Linked DNA regions of Homo sapiens: region 1 is linked to region 2. Evidence: promoter capture Hi-C in human tissues and cell types (Jung and others, 2019). All regions are on one chromosome and are shown on one strand. Each heading gives the region's core, a stretch centred on a gene start or on the middle of the fragment in contact. The rest is flanking DNA. Distances are from core to core; before and after follow the strand shown.

Region 1 (2,878 bases), core at 338-2,837, 140 kb after region 2:
TTGTCACGACTGCGTCCTGGTGCCCAGACCAAAGCCTGCACATCACGGTGCTCCGTGGATGGGTTTGAAGGAGCGGACCTGGACCAGAGCGTGCTGTAGGCCACAGTCAGTGCCGGCCCACCCAGAACTGGCCACTCAGCGGTTACCCATCTCTATCGCTTTCTTTCCCAGAGTCGGAAACTTGGAACCACTTTCAACTTTTCCTCTTCTGCTTCCCCTCTAGGTTCCACAGGGGGGCCTCGCTGCTGGGCAGGGGCCTCCGGGCTCCTCCATCCTCCTCCGCCCAGCTCTGCCCTCCCAGCGAGGAATCTCCTGTGGAACATGGTGGGATCTCATTGTCCCTGCTGCAGGAAGTGGAGCAAAGAAACCGAGGTAGGGGGCCAGGTTCAGTGGCTCATGCCTGTAATCCCAGCACTTCGGGAAGCCGAGGTGGGCGGATCACCTGAGGTTAGAAATTCAAGACCAGCCTGGCCAACATGGTGAAACCCCATCTCTACTAAAAATACAAAAATTAGCCGGGGTGGTGGCACACGCCTGTAATCCCAGCTACCTGGGAGGCTGAGGCAGGAGAATCACTTGAACGTGGGAGGCGGAGGTTGCAGTGAACCAAAATCGCACCACTGCACTCCAGTCTGGGCGACAGAGTGAGACTCTGTCTCAAAAGAAAAAAAGAAAGAAAGAAACCGAGGCAGGGCCATTTCTCTCCCTTCCTGCAGTTCCCTCCCTTTCCTTCCCTGGCTTACCTGGTGTTCATCAACATTCCAGAATTCTGCACTGAAGGAATCCCATGCAAGTCTGTCTCACAGTGGGAGAGCAAGGCCCCTTTTTTATTCACGCGGGCTCTGGGATGACCAGGGTCAGCATAGCATGATTTACACACGCTGCTTGAACCAAATCAGTGAATGGAACAGCCCTGGAGTCATTGTAAACAAACCCAGATTCGCTGGACGCCCGCTGAGCTGAAAACCACAGGAAGAGGAGAGAAGACATACAAACCTCTTTCTCAAATGAGACTTTCTCCCAGAACCTAATGTTCGGGAAAAATCTTCCTAATTACTCGTTAATTGGCATATTATCAGCACTTTGTGCCAAGGATTAAGTGGGTAATTCCCATTATTTCTAGAGAGCAAGGTAATGCATCCACTCAGCCAGGCAGAGTGCGCGCAGCTCTGGAACTGTCACCACTGAGGCCTGCGGGCAGCCCCGTCCACGAGCCCAGTCCTCAGCCCTGCGGAAACGCTGGCTGCGCTGTTGAAGCCAACTCCTGAGACTTGTATTTTTCCGACAATGTGAAAAAACATTTCATCATTCAGCCTGATTTTCATTTCTCACTTCTTGGGTATACATTTTTTGAAAATGGATTTTCCTCTTAAAGAATAATTTATTGTGTAAGTCAGTCTAATTCTCCTGCTCCGGAACTTTGTGTTTTGAACCTCTTGGTCATTCAAGTAAGAGCACTGGGGTAATTTTAGCATTGCTAATTGGCTCGATAAAGAAATGTATTTTAAACAACTATGATTCAGCACTTAATCACAGCATTTGATGATATTGTCATTACAAAAACCTCTATTCTCCATTAAAAATAATTAAACCATCTTAAAGTTTGACCATCCTATGTTGGCCTAAACTTTCTATATTTCCATATTACTCAAATGTTTATGGACAAGAGAACTGTGGTACATAAAGAGAGAGAGAGAGGGAGAGATGGAGAAGGAGGGAGAAGAGAGCACGCACCCTGGAACTTGGGTTTAAGTCCCAGCTCTTCCATCTGCCGACTATGTCTGCAGAACAGTCCTCACCCTCTGAGACCATTTCTTCTTCTCTGTGGGGAGGATGTGCTGGGACCACAAGGTATCAGGACAGCCCTGTCCCCAGGGGTAGGGAAGAATGACCTCAGAAGGAAATGAGAAGGAAGGGGCTCTGGGATCAGGCAAGGGTCTAGCAGGGTGTACCAAGCACTCCTGTAGGGCAGGAGCCCCAGGGACATATGTGGAAGCCCATATATCTTGGGGAATATGTGGAAGCGCATATACAAGAAATGATCCCTCTCCTTCCTGGGTGTCTGCGCCATGGGACATGCTCTCGGAGGCAGCTTGCCAGAAGGGCCACCAGTCTCCAGTCACTATTCAGGCAGCCCTCTACTTTAGCCCCCAAAACTTTTAAAAGGTAAAAGTCTGAAAGTCCAAGAATGAATTTACCTATTTTACCAGTTAGGATCGGGTTGACTGCAAGTATCATAGATACCAAATCACAGTGGCTTAAACAACACGGGACTGGGTTTGGCTTCATTTTCCCTGCAAAGTGTGGCAGAAATGATCCAGCTCTTTTTCACCGAGCCTGCAGGACCTGGCCTCTTCATTCTTCCACTTGGCCCCCTCTAAGGTGAGGTCCTTGTCTCATGGTCCAAGATGGCACCCAGCCACCACATCTGCGTCTGCATCTACAGTGGGGTTTGTTGTTGTCACCTCATTGGCCAGAACCAGCCACATGTCTTCACGTAGTTTCACGGGAAGCAGGGAAACATAGTGATTTCTTCTAGGCAGTCATGTGCCCAGCCAAAAATTCCACGCTATGGAAGAAGATCTGGGGGAAATATAGCAAATTCTGCCTCTCATATTAGGGTGTAAGGAAGTGGTAGTTCTGTTTCCAGAAAACAAAAATGCCTGTAATGATGGTTTCATAAGTGCTGGCAACTCAGTAGGAAGGGGAGAGCAGCAGGAGAGCCTGGCCAACGGAGGTTGGTGCTGGTGTCACCTCCCTCCATCTCTCCTTTCTGGTAGCCAGTGCATCTCCCCACACCTCTGGAGAGGCCAAGACAGGCAGATGGGCAGCCATGTCCCCTCTACATGGACGCATTGGGTGCCTATAGCCAGGCTCG
Region 2 (2,700 bases), core at 4-2,503:
TATCTCAATTATCCGGATAACTCTAGACCTAGAGTCACCATGGAAACCTAGAACCCTGAGTCACAGAGAAGCTGGGCCATTCCTCTCCCTTCCCGGTGGTGCCGCAGTTCTTGAGATGTGAGCAGCTTTCAGCCCCGTGGCCTCGCCTAAGCTGGGGTTTCCTATTTCATCCACAACTTCAGGAATCTAAACTTTCCTGCAAAATATTGAGCATGTGACCTGAGTCCAAACAGCCATGGACTCAAGCACCTTCTGATAAAAACGGAAACCACAGTGTAGGGGGTGGTTTTGACCAGGGTTTCGGAGTCAGATAAACTCAGGTTTCCACCTTGAATTTCTCATCAATCTGACGTGGCAGGTTATTCATCCTAAGGTTCAGTTCCCACCTGTGTAAAGTGGGAGCCGCAAGTCCTCCGAGAGTGACGATGATGTGCGTGGAGTGCCCAGCCCAGATTGAAGCGCGGCCAAGGCGGGTCGCTATCTGGGCACCGCTCAGCTCCAGAGGGCGCCACTCCCGCGGAGCCTGCGGGATCGGGGCTTCCCGGGAGCAGCGCGATCAGCACCACGACTCGGGGACACAGCCAGGGCCCGGTTTCTACAGGAAGCGCCTCATTTGGAGCCTTTTTGTGATAGAATGATCATTAGTCCTAAGCCCATTCAGAGGTTCAAGAATGGGGTCGGCTCAATTTCAGGGCCTTATTACCCAAGCCCGGCTGCCCTTCGGTGCCACCAGCACCACTGCTCCGTCGCTGCGGAATTCCAAAGGCAGGTTTGGCGTTAGGGCCTTGGCCCCAGAGAGGACGCCGAGCGCTCCACGGAAAGTCTCCGCCCGGCTCCCAGGGCGCACACTCGCGCGCACGTGGGGCCGAGGCCCTGCTCCCGGGGCCTCAGGGCCAGCCGGCGAGGGACCCAGCCGAGTGACAGCAGGAGGCGGAGGGAAGGTTGGGCCGGAAGGTGTCAGCCCCGCCCCGCGCTCCCTCGCCGCCTCCGCCCTCCTCTTCTCTCCCCTCGTGCGTTCCCTCTCCTCTCCCTCCGCTCCCCCAACCCTCCTGCTGCCCCCTTCCCTCTCCTCCCGCTTCTCCCCATCCTGCCTACCTCCCTTCCCCTCCTCTTCTCTCTCCTCCCCTTCCCTCCCCTCTCTCTTCTCTCCTCCCTCGTTTCCTCCCCTCCCCTCCACTCGGCCGTCCCTCCTTCCTCCTCCCTCCTCCCTCCTCCTCCCGCTCCTGAAGAGCGCGCCGCGTGGGGGACGGCCCGGTTACTTCCTCCAGAGACTGACGAGTGCGGTGTCGCTCCAGCTCAGAGCTCCCGGAGCCGCCCGGCCAGCGTCCGGCCTCCCTGATCGTCTCTGGCCGGCGCCCTCGCCCTCGCCCGGCGCGCACCGAGCAGCCGCGGGCGCCGAGCAGCCACCGTCCCGACCAAGCGCCGGCCCTGCCCGCAGCGGCAGGGTAAGAGCTGGGCCCGCAGAGAGCGCCCGGCGCGCGGCTCCAGTCCCATGGAGGGTCACCCGGGGCCTGGGCGGGGGTCGCGGGGGGCACTGACACGCAGATCTCGGGGCGCTGCCGGGGGTGCAGGTGGGGGTGGCGGCTGCTGCGAGGACTCTAGGGGCGCGCGTCTGAGTTCCGCGCCGGCTCGTTTTCCGGTTATGGAGTGGCCTCCGGGGCTGGCGGGGTCGGCCGGGGGGTTCCTGCGTGCTAGGGCCGCTGTCTTCGGGGTCGCCTAGCGGCGGGCGCGGCCAGGGCGCGCTGGCTTGTTTCGCTCGCTTTTGTTTTTAAAAGGAAACGCAGGCCTGGTAGGGGGTCCTGCCCAGTGGATGTCCCGGCGAACATGATTTCGCGAACGGGAGTGGGGGCACAGGAGAGCGTGTCCGAGGTGGCCTGGCGCCCCGGCTTTGAGGGTGACTTCCTGGAGCGGCGCCGGGCCCGGAGGATCTGGGGCGCCCAAGACACCTGAAGGCTGCGGCACCGCGGGAACCTGCGGGGCGCGGGGTGCCATGGTCACCTGCTCGCCGCGTCCAGGGCCCGGGCTGGGGACCCCTCGGTCGTGCGAGGAGAGCGTGGGGAACCTGTCGGAAATGAGATCTGGTTGCGCTGGGCTGCCTTTATTTTCTCGTTCCTACAGCATTTGAATGAAGAGGTAACTGAGTGTTTGCTTGTGTGTGTTTGGGTTGCGTGTGTGTTATCCTATTTTATTTTTTACGGCAGGAGACCTTTTATGTTAGCCTGTACACAATTTCAGGGTAGCCTAAAACAGTAGTTGACGCGCTAGTTATTTAGAAAGTAAAGAAATGAGCAGTCCCCTTTGGAGACAGGAGTAATTTATTTTAATTCGCCAGTAAGAGATTATATTTGTTCCATACAATGGAAGCGCCTGTGCGTTATCTGCCTGCCCACACCACCACCAATCAGAGAGATAAATCTCCACGTTAAGCTTTATTAAAATTCTGAGTAGTAGCGCAGCACAGTAAATGTTAGCACCGACCATCCGCAGGGAAATGCTCAGATACTCATTTCTGGGATTAGTCATTCATCTCTCTAAACTGATCGCTTTCAAAGCGAAAAAAGCAAACTACCTTCAAATGTGTGTTACAAGGTTGTGTTGTTTCTTTTTTTTGTTTGTTTTCAAATTTATCTAAATAATCTTACATAAGTGATTACTTGTTCCAATAAGGGTACTGTTGTCAGGCAAATTCTCCTTGTTTTT

What was found. Contacts are between HindIII fragments. The study calls those that stand out against the background at their distance.
Region 1: a fragment that was not itself captured here is called in contact with the fragment with the promoter of ETS2 in region 2 in 3 of the 25 tissues and cell types used here (dorsolateral prefrontal cortex, heart right ventricle and mesenchymal stem cells).

The regions. Positions count from the first base shown.
Region 1 is chr21:38,944,839-38,947,716 of GRCh38, forward strand. No RefSeq gene overlaps it. Among named protein-coding and RNA genes, the nearest start is that of ETS2-AS1, 7.8 kb to the left of the region's middle. RefSeq lists an enhancer at 1-323 and a silencer at 1,699-1,827. The HindIII fragment of the contact is 7,094 bases long and covers 1-2,878 here.
Region 2 is chr21:38,804,676-38,807,375 of GRCh38, forward strand. ETS2 (ETS proto-oncogene 2, transcription factor) reads left to right here and starts at 1,254. Exons shown (of 10, transcript NM_005239.6): 1 at 1,254-1,445. RefSeq lists enhancers at 53-553, 87-226, 407-466, 477-636 and silencers at 747-1,076, 1,097-1,166, 1,357-1,646, 1,757-1,856, 1,877-1,976. The HindIII fragment of the contact is 2,481 bases long and covers 167-2,647 here.